3 separate regions of the Homo sapiens genome follow, and all the other regions are linked to region 2. Evidence: promoter capture Hi-C in human tissues and cell types (Jung and others, 2019). All regions are on one chromosome and are shown on one strand. Each heading gives the region's core, a stretch centred on a gene start or on the middle of the fragment in contact. The rest is flanking DNA. Distances are from core to core; before and after follow the strand shown.

Region 1 (3,541 bases), core at 192-2,691, 210 kb before region 2:
TTTTTTTTTTTCGTTTTTTGACAGGGTCTCACTCTGTCACCCAGGCTGGAGTGCAGTGGTGCGATCATGGCTCACTGCAGCCTCCAATTCATGGGCTCGAGGGACCCTCCTACCTTAGCCTCCCAAGTAGCTGGGACTACAGGTGCACACCACCATGCCCAGTTAATTTTTTTAAATTTTACTTTTTGTAGAGACCAAGTCTTGTGATATTGCCCAGACTGGTCTTGAACTCCTGGCCTCAAGAGATCCTCCCACTTCTGACTCCTAAAGTACTGGGATGTGCCTTCCGAAATGCATATGCCACTGTGCCTGGCCAGCAACCTGGATTGTAATGCTGGCTTCTGTCTCCTTAACTTGCTTTTACCAAACCAAACCTTCTCTTTTTGTTAGGCTGTGCAACCACAGTGCTGGTGACAGGGGCAGGAGTTGGCGAGATGGTGCTGCAGATGCTGGTTGGTTCGGTATGTGGGGACCTGTAAGGGAGAGGGGAGCATTTGGGGAGCACTCCTCTGACAGGTGAGAAGATGCAGATAGCCACCTTCTGAACTCAAACTGTCCCTTTCCTGAGTCTCCAGCAAAGCCAGCAGGGCCCCCTGTGCCGTTGTTACCTGTTTCCGTTTCCAAGCCAGCCCTGAGAGCTGAGCCTCCATATGTGGGATCTGGAGATGTAAACGGATGCATGGAAAAGTCCAAAGCAAACACAAGCCATGTCTGGGAGCAGGGCCAGAGGGGGCCCGTGGGAATGCTGTTTAGCTCTCAGAGCCTGAGATGGGTTGGAACTGCAGTCAGAGTTCTTTTTCCATCCCTTCGGAACCCACCACTCCCTACCCCACCTCTCACAGCCTCTGGCCACCCTGCAGAGGGCCCAGCTTCCTGCTCAACTCCTGCCCTGACCGAGAGGGCCAACTCTTCCAGTTCTATTCAAATCCACCCATGTTTCATTTATTCACCAGGAAAAAAAAAAAAACAACCTAACATCTACTTTTTATTGAATACTATAATGTAGATATTATTCCCCTTTTTACAACAGAGGACACGGAAACTCAGATGAATTTAGCAACTTACCCTAGGTCAGTCACACTTCCAGAAACTGACAGAGAGGACCTCACATCTAGATCTTCCGGCCTCCAAAATCTCCCTCATTGTGACTCCATTCTCCTTTCCTCCTCTTTTGCCCTGCTGGAGGGAGGGGAAGAGCTGCATCTCACCATACCCTCCTCATTGAAATGATGTGACATCTGGGACTTGCTTTAGTGTAACCTAGTGCAGAAAAGAAGTGCAAGGCCACCAATGAAACCGGTGCTGACTGCTAAAGTTGAGTGTTGGGTTCATTGGAGCTCCATATACTACTTTAACATGTTTTAAATTCTCATAATAAAAGAGTAAAACAATATATCCTCTGCAAAGTTCTGGTTAGGGCTTATGGGTATAGAAACACCTAGTATGACTGGAGCTTCAGTGATGATAGAGATCGTCAGAAGGTTCCAGAACACAGAGCTGCAAGGGACTGCAGGGGGTCACCAGGTCCAGTCCCTGCCTTAGAGCAGGACTTCGGCCTTCTCCAGACACATCAACTTGAAACAAGGCCAAGGCCTCCCTCCTCCCCGTGATTCCATCTCTTGGTGTGACGGGCCTCAACTTAGCTGAAAAACCAGCCAAGGATGGAGAAGGCTGCTTCCTCCGATACACCTTCCACGTGAAGTTTTAATTGTCTGTCTCTCTGTGTTTTCCCCTTTGGCAGATATTCCAGGCTCAGGGCAGCTATAGTTTCCTGGTCTGTGGCGTGATCTTTGGTTGTCTGGCTTTTACCTTCTATATCTTGCTCCTGTTTTTCCACAGGATGCACCCTGGACTCCCATCAGGTAAGGAAAGTATCTGTTTCTACACAAGAGGAGGAAAACAGAGCCGGGGTCGGGGAGCGGGGGAGCAGGAGATGCTATGGATCTTAACGTGCCAGAAACGCTGCTCTGTTCCAAGTAAAATGCAAGGAAATGTTTATTTTTCTACAGCTTCCTTTTCCTCTCTTCCTGCTTTCCATACGATTGTCTGCGCTGGACTCTTAAGATAGGCGAGAGCTGGGTCGGCTGACTCATGGTTTCTCCATTAGCAGAGGGGTATGGATTGTGAACTTGGCTTCCTGCATCCCACCATGTCATGGGACCATGAGCCAAGAATCTCTTTCCAGCCTGTTCAGGGAACTGAAAGGCAGAGCCCGACTCCTTGGCTGGAACTCAGCCCAACGGCCTAATTGGCCATCTCTTTGCAGTTCAGGATTTTGATTCTAGTCCAAATCTTTTTTTCAAAAAGAAGTCCTTCAGGCCAAGTAGCAAAGAAAGTCTCCTTCAGGGCACAGACACCTCCTAAGAATAGTCTCCCTTCTAGAGACCCCAGGCAGGGGGAGTCCCAAAGCAATTTTCATAACCCTGAGCCCTTACCTGCCCTTTTGCCCACTGCTTTCAAAGTGCCCAGGGACTGCATCGGCTGTGTGCAAAGCCAGTTCTTAAGAGAAGGTGCCCAGGCGGAGACTCTGTCCTCCCTATAAAAAGCAAAATCATCACAAAAAGACTAAAGGAACAGGCATTCACCATCCGCTCTCAGTGGGTGAACATATCTACGCTCTAAACGCTCAGTACAAAGGCCCAGAAGGAAAGGTGGCCCCCAAAACAGCACTAACTATAGCCTCACTTCTGAGACAGCAGTACTGGTTGCACACACACAGGAGTTTCATTTAAGACCTACATTCAATTAATATTTGCTGAACATTAAATGAATAACACTTAATGGGCTCCTTATTCATGGGAGACAGACACATTCCCCAAGCCCTAGACAGCAGTCTCAGGAAACTGCCTCCACCAACTGTTCGCCAGAACTAGGGGGTCTGACTTTTCACTTTGCTCCCTCTAGAGCCACAGAATGGCAGAGAAACAAACAGCCTGGGTAAGCTCTCAGAATGAATCATCACTGCAACTCATCAGAGCTGCTGAAACATGCTACCTGTTTTGTTTTTCTTTTGTAGTTCCTACCCAAGACAGATCAATTGGAATGGAAAACTCTGAGTGCTACCAGAGGTAAAACTGGGTGAAGAAGGCAAGAGAAGACTTTCAGCCTCTTGATCACCAGCACGACCATACTGTTTCAGAAAGCTGGGTGGTGGTGGAGGCGCTCTCTCAATGGCTATTCAAGTCTTCTCCACTAAAACTTGGTTGGGTAGAGGAAATTAAATTGAGTCCTGGTACCTGGTCAAAATCATTAGAAGTTTACCTGGCTTCTCAAGTTATCTTCTTCCCTGGTTCAGACTGTTGGTAAGAGCTGTCCAGATACCCAGATGGGAAGGAAGGAGACAGCCGCGCGCTTCACTCCATTTGTCACCTCATGCATGGACCATACTCTGGGTTTGAGATCATTCTTCATTGAAGTTTGTAAAAATAGGTTGAAATTGTAAAGCTCCATGATCATTGCTATATGTAGATATATTTCAATTTAAGCAAAACAAGCTGCAAGTTATTCCCTGGCATGCTCAAAGGATTTTCGTGCTTTTCAC
Region 2 (3,246 bases), core at 366-2,865:
GGCAAAGAAATAGGGAGAAACTGATTGCTGAGTGAAGTCCCCCAGACCCCAGATCGTTCTAGCTTCTGAGAAAACAAAACAAAGCTAGGAGGACTCCCTGGGCAGTGGGGCAAGCCTGCCAGACCAAGGCCAAGAGCCAGAGGCCTACCCACTCCTGCCCTTGAGAGTCAACAGTGTTACAAAGAGCTCAGACAGCTGACTCGGATCCAGGCCTCTGTCTCTCCCCGTCTCCCCCTGCTCTTGGCCCTGTGAGCTTGTCAGATAGGACAAGGGAGTTATCTCAGTTAGAAGGGACAGAGCATAAAACGATTGCTTATTACCCACGCATTTCAGTTAATTAGGCTCCTCCTGTTCCCCAGGGTTACTGAGAGTTGGATATAGTGGAATTCTTAGAAACAAAAACAAAAAAACAAAAGTAGCAATAAAAAAAACCCAAAACAAAAACCAAAGCACCGTAAGCCAATATGCACTTGCTCCAAATGCATCTCTTTAGCTGTAATGGCTCCACTTCTCTGCCTAAAGGAATCCCCAGGCTTCCTAATTCCTGATGGACTCCCATCCTATTCCATTTCACCAGAAGAGCTCTTATTCGTAAAAAATAAATTTAAAGAGAGTTCCACCAGGTAAGAGGAACAGGTCCTTAAGTATTCCAAACACACACAATTAGTCAAGTTCAGTTTAGGAAAGGAGGTATCAAACCCCAGGAACTGGCCCAGGAGAACTGTTTCCTCTATCAATTCAGTCACCCACCAGGACTCCCTTTTCCAATCTCCTTAAACACAGTACTGTGGTTCTTTCAAACTCCCTCACCAGAGATCCAGGAGGAAACCTCTGAGTCCAGTGCCCCTATGCCAGAAAAGTTTCTGAGTCCGCTAAAAGCTGACACCCCCGCCTCCCTCCTGTGTTCCTGGCAGGCCACTGAACCTGAGAGGGGGCTCCCAGGAGGGGAAGCCAGTCCTCCCTCACCACTCCCCCTGTAAAGAGACTTCAGACAGGCCTAAGGCCCTGGGACGAAAGAAGCAAAAGTGAACCAGGACGCCCTATCCCCTCCTCCCAGGCGGGGACAAAAAAGACCCATTTTAGTATCCCCAACCCCGAGGAGGGAGAGAAAGTAACTGGGTGGCCTCCTCAGTCTCTCCACCACTCAGATTCAGCAAATGCGCTGCGCGCCAGGACTGCCGCCCTCCACCACCCCCTCCCCGCCCCAGGACCCCACAGGACTGACCTGCCCCTCGCCTGGGAGGAAGGGGGGCGCCTGGCAAGTGGCAGCGTGGCCCGTGGTCTCGGGGGGTGCAGGGCACCCCCTCTTCTCATCACTCCTCCTCGACAGTCCTCCTTGGCCCCCGGCGTGCCCCCCCACACCCCCAGCCAAGGCGAGCGTCCAGCCGCGACACCCGGCTCGCTACATTTCGCTTCTGCGTTACAGCGAGGCCGCCGCTCCGCTTCCACGCGGGGGAGGTGGCCGGGGAGGGCAGGATATATCGCTTCGGGCCCGGCGGGGGGGCACCCGGACGGGGGACCGGGGAGCCGAGCTCACGCGCCCCCAATCGCTTCTTGCCCGCGGACTCGGGCCCAACTGGTTGGCTGCCGGTGGCAAACGTGATCTGGGGCAGACTGGGTGGCACCCCCCCCGCTCCATCAAAAATAGATTCTCGGATGGACAACAGCAGCAGCCAATCAGGGACTGGGGAGGGGGCGGGATCAACCTCGGCCCGGCCCCCTTCCTTCGCTTCGTGCCCAGGAGGCGGGGCGCCGGGGAAACGCAGTAGGAGGAGTGACGGGAACCGGGAGCCGGCTCCATGCGCCTGGAGCGCGCGGGTCCCAGCGCCCATCGGCCCGGGGTCCGAGGGGCCCGCTGCCCGGGCTCGCTGCGTGGTGCTACCGCCCCCGGGCCCGCTGCGCCGCGTCGGAGCCCCAGCAGACTTTGAGAGGCGTGTGCGACAGTGCGCGTCCTCTCCTGCCTCTGGATGTTTCCTTGGAGCCTCTGGCCTTCGGGAAGACCGGTAAACGTCCCTGTGGAGCCAGCCAGCCAGCCACCTCTGACCCCCGGGCTCAAGCAGCCAGCCGCGTGCTCCCTCCTCCCACTTGGTACCCGGACAGAACAGTCCCTACCTTGCTCTTCTCCCGCCGGCTCGTCACTTTAGGCTCCCTCCAGATTCCGCGTTCCTTGAGCAAATGGCTCACCCCTGACGAATCCGGCCTTAAAAAAGTCCCGGCCTTGAAAGGGGTGGAGACTGGCGGGCGGGAGCGAAAGGAGGTCAGACCCATGGCTGGGGTCGCACACGCATCACCTGAGGTCGGAGAGGAGGGGAGCCTCACTTCCTCTGACCCACTGAGCCTGGTGGCAGCGTGCGGAGAGATGTCACCATCCCGGACTAAATGAAATCCAACTTTCCCTGACGCACCTTGTGGGATCAAAGAGGGGTGTTCCCATGCTCACCTTTCGCCACTTCCTCCCTGGGGTATCTCCACCTCTCCAACACAAGCTCAATGCCAGTTCTCTTTGGGATGTTTTTGTGCAGGGGGTGTGACCTCCCTCATAAAGGAACCCCCACTCCCAAGTTTTCCCCTCTTGTCAGTGGAACCTGTGACCAACGGTTCCTTCCTGTCCTTTTCCTCCCTGAAAGTAGCCCGGGGGCATTCGAACATGGCTCTAGACCCCTGAATAGGGTTTGGAGCGGAGATGTGCCTGGGGAGAAGAGATCGCAGTGCTGTGTATGAAGCTTTGGGCACGTGCTCACAAGAGCACACACAGCAACCTGAGCAGGTCATTCCTTTTGATAAGGATGACAAATACACATACCAAACCCTGTTCCCCTCACCCACCCCAAACCAGTACCCCCAGGATGATTCCAGATCAGCTCTGGAGCATTTGCATCAAGGGCCTGCAGACTCACAGGACCTACTAGAGCAAAATATCAGTGTCTCAGACCCCAGTTTTGGCCTCAAATACTGGGTTTTTCTGCCAGGAGAAGTAGCTGCTAGTCTAGGAAATGCTGGGACTTGTCCAGAAAGATGAGGTTTGTGAATACGGGGTGTGGGGTTGGGTGGGGAATTAAGGCTGATGTATCTGGAGGAACTTTGGTTGGGCTGGAGGCAACTTCTGCCCTGTTCTATTCAACAGTTCCCTCCCCTCCACTACCCCATTTAATCTGGCCACAGCTCAGCTACCTGTGTATAAAATCTTGATCTCTCTCCTATTTCCTTTCTACCTTCCGTGTTTTTACTTACTCGAAAACTGTTCCC
Region 3 (3,637 bases), core at 923-3,422, 140 kb after region 2:
TTAAGCAAATACCTTAAGGCTAAAGACAGCAAAGTCTTCACCACCCTGCCCTGCAGTGGCAGGATCTGGCCTGGCCCTGCGCGGCTGCCAGTTTCATGAGTGCTTGAGGACTGGTGGGACTGCAGAGGTACCCAAGGAGAAGCGAATCCTCACTTCTCTCCCCTGGGAAGCCCAGGGGCTCAAGTACCCCAGCTGTGAGTATCTTAGGCTGGTCAGGAGACATGGAAGGCAAGGTGAGTAGGGTGATGCCAGCCAGTGCTTGGTCTTTCAACACAGGGAACTCCTAGCATGTGCCCAGCACTGTGCTAGGCACTGGGCACGCCAGACCCAGTGAGAACCAGTCCTTGGGAGATCAAGACCCTGGCAGGAGCAGGCAGAGGAGGCTTCTAGAATACACACAATGACAGAGCTGGGGGACAATATGTTAGGAGGAAGCTTAGGGTGGACTCTGAGGTGGCGAGGGTCTGGACAGTTCTTGTCTGGAGACAGTCAGGTCAGCATTGACCATGATCCCTGCACATCTGAGGCCGGAGGAAAGGACGTGGCACAAACCATAGAACGGGAGACAAGGAAGGGGCCTTAGGGTCCATCTGGTTCACCTCCCTCATTTTACATATGAGGGGGCCAGGGACCTGCCCAAAGTCACCGAGAGAGAGATAATGGCAGAGCTGAGGAGATGGCTCAGGTCGGTGCCTGCTTCAGGACCCCATCCTATCCCTCCACCCTGGCCCTGGAGCACAAACCGAGCCCTCTCTCCACAAAGAGGGCAAGAAGTCATGTGGGGACCTCCTCCCACTCCCCATTCGGTCATTACCCAGACACACCCTGGGCTCCGAGGTGGGCATATGCCAGCTGCCGCTGCAGAGGGACTGTTCTGCCCATCTGAACTCGGCACTCCTTTAGGAGTGGTTTAGGGTTGGGGTTGGGGGTGTGGGGGAAGCAGGTCTGCAGTGTCAGGGCTTGGGAGCCCAGGAGGATACAACTCCTAGGTGGGCGGGTCCTGCAGCTTCTAGAAAGAGGAAATGATTCTGCTCAGAACCAGAAATTGGCCTGGGTGAGGGTGTTCAGGGCAGTTCACACTGCCCTGGGAATGCTGAGACTGGGGCTAGAGCTAAGGAGGAGGTGAGTTCCAGGTGGTTAATGTTGACTGATGGGCCTCCTGGCTGCAATCCTGACACCGGGACCTTAAGCCAAGCACATATTAACCTGGGTGTAGGGGCTGCTTCTAAGCAGGGGATGTAGACCCCCAATTCAGGGAGAACTGAGAGAGCTGGAGAAGCATGGAATTGAGAATCTTGGGCACCAGGCCTCACCCTATCTCTAGGATCTGGCTTAGGCAGCGAGGGTATTATGGCAGAGGTGGTTTTTCTGACTGCAGTAAAGTCATAGGAAAATGATACCTTCCCATCTCCCTCTTCCTATTCCACATTCTCCAGGAAAGAGTCTGAGACTGGAAGGTGCCTAATACCCACCACCTGATCCAATCCACCTGACTCTTCCTCCCTGGTGACTCCTGACCACACAGACCTCTGTTTTCTGAGTGCCAACAGCTGTGCAGTCTGAACCACACTGCCGGCGGAAAGTGAGGTATTCTAGGTCTTCTAGGTTAGTTTTGTCTCCCAGTGGTTCCTTGAGGCCCGGGACTGTATCACAAGCACTTGTGAGACATCAGAATGTACTGGAAGAAAGAAAACTTTAGCCTCAGATCTTAGCTCTGGGGTTTGCTAGTCATGAGACCTGGGGCAAAGTATTAAACTCCCAGGCTCAATTTATTCATCTGTGAAGGGGGCTGAGTGGCAAAAAAGGAGGTGCGGTTGTAAGGTGAATTCCTTTCCTTCCGGCACAAAGACAGGGCCCAGGAATGACCACTAGTGGCATGGCCATCTGCTTATCTCCATCATCTCTCTGACAGTGCAGTGTAATCAGCCCTTCAGCCATACCCCAGCTAGGCGAGGCCCTTCTCAACTGCACAATGAATGGCCCTTGCTCCCTTGTCCCAGGGAGCCAGGAGTGCAGAGCTCCTGTTTGCAGGTCTTGCCTCACAATCTCCCAGAGATGCAGCCAAGTGGCAGAATGGGTTCCAGAAGGCTCCCCACCCAAGCTTCTCCAGCAGAGCAAAACCATGGTGGCAGTACCTGCACCTGAGCCCTGGAGCCCCAGCCCCCTCTGCCTTTTCTCCTTTTGGAAGGTGCCAAGTGGAAAGGGTGTGAGTGAATGTGTGTATGTGTGTCTGCAGTGTGAATTTTGAACAAGAGTGAGAATGCTTTTCTAAAAGAGAGGGGGACCTGTGTATGTAGTACACCTTTCCTCTTCCTCCCTCCTCACCTCCACATGCTCCCTGGTGACCAGTGGACCTTTGCCTAGCCGTGGATGCAGCTGAGCCCTCTCACCTTCTAGTTACCTGGAGCTTTCCTGCCTAAGGAATAAACCAGACTCTCTAGAGCCAGACCCACAGGTGTAGGCAGCTTTTGCAAGAACAGAGTCTTGTAGCAGGGGCTGCTCCAGTTCACATTGGAGGGAAGGGAGTGTGGAGGGGCATGTGTCTACCATGAGAGTTTGGGGGACAAGTCCAGAAATTTATCAGCACCCCTCTGCAAAGTAAACCTCCTATTGCTGTGGGGTTTTTTTACCTGCCAAGGTCAGGGTACTTAGTTCCCTGATTCTACCCTCCCCCTTTCCAGCAACCTTGCCAGAACTGATCACTGAGGGCTAAGGCGGAGCTGGTAGCAGGGTCAAGGATAGGCTTGCAGCCCTAGAGAAGGGGCATGTCCACCCTAGGAAGGAGACTGGAACCAAGCCAGGGCTTTAGTCTGGGACACACTCAGGTGCCCTGACCAGCCTAAACTCCACTCTCCAACTGGGATTGGAGTCAAGTGTGAACTGTGCATGGGATTCCCTGAGCAAAGTGGGCCCAGTGTGAGGGTAGAGGAGGAAAACAGGGACTGGCCTGCTGGGACCTCAGCTGGGGCCATTTCTCTGGGTCTCCCGGCACAGCAGGCAGGCCCTAGGTAGGTGTGACAAAGGCTGGCTGAGTGGCGCTGGGGTCCAACCCTCAAGAAGTACCTTCACCCCCAGAGTACAGGAAACAGGTCACCGAGTGAGTGGGTTCTTGGTCAGCTGGGGCTAATTCCTGTCAGCCCTCCAGGACTGTGCTCTGGCCTGGCCTGCTCAGAGGGCCGCATTGTTCCCTGGGAGCCTCTTGAGCATTTAGCTTGTCTTGTCCTGCTGGTACATTCATTGGCTGTGATTCCTGCTGAAGACATCTTCGGGGGCAGGCAGGACGCCAAGCTTGCGGGCAGGACTTGAGCTGTTCCACCGAGCAGGGAGCTCAGAGGCAGCAGGGACTCGCCAGCCTGGGATGTGACCATCTGGGGCTGTTTGCCAAGGGCAGGAGCAAGTTTGCCTGAGAAGTTCTGACACCCCCACTGGCCCTGGCAAGGAGACTGAGTGCAGGCTCTGTGTGCAACCGGAGTGTCCTGAGATTGGCTCTGTCCCCCCCAGAAACAAGCTGTGTGATTATGGGTGAGTTAATAAACTTCCCTGAGCTCTTGGCCTCCTCATCTGCAAGATGTGGGTACCAGCAGCACCTACCTCAGAGTGACTTTGGGAATATTAAACAAAGTAATGCATGAAAAGC

The links. Contacts are between HindIII fragments. The study calls those that stand out against the background at their distance.
Region 1: a contact is called between a fragment that was not itself captured here and the fragment with the promoter of SLC41A1 in region 2, in 1 of the 25 tissues and cell types used here (aorta).
Region 3: a contact is called between a fragment that was not itself captured here and the fragment with the promoter of SLC41A1 in region 2, in 4 of the 25 tissues and cell types used here (IMR-90 fibroblasts, aorta, fat and 1 more).

The regions. Positions count from the first base shown.
Region 1 is chr1:205,597,390-205,600,930 of GRCh38, forward strand. It overlaps SLC60A1 (solute carrier family 60 member 1), which reads left to right. Exons shown (of 10, transcript NM_181644.5): 8 at 391-461; 9 at 1,742-1,862; 10 at 3,017-3,541. The coding sequence ends at 3,072. Among named protein-coding and RNA genes, the nearest start is that of SLC60A1-AS1, 30 kb to the left of the region's middle. RefSeq lists an enhancer at 2,576-3,541. The HindIII fragment of the contact is 9,157 bases long and covers 1-3,541 here.
Region 2 is chr1:205,811,583-205,814,828 of GRCh38, forward strand. SLC41A1 (solute carrier family 41 member 1) reads right to left here and starts at 1,616. Exons shown (of 11, transcript NM_173854.6): 1 at 1,226-1,616. RefSeq lists silencers at 1,347-1,606, 1,747-1,976 and an enhancer at 1,410-1,910. The HindIII fragment of the contact is 10,091 bases long and covers 1-3,246 here.
Region 3 is chr1:205,947,193-205,950,829 of GRCh38, forward strand. All of the region lies in intron 2 of SLC26A9-AS1 (SLC26A9 and RAB7B antisense RNA 1), which reads left to right. Among named protein-coding and RNA genes, the nearest start is that of SLC26A9, 5.6 kb to the left of the region's middle. The HindIII fragment of the contact is 4,219 bases long and covers 64-3,637 here.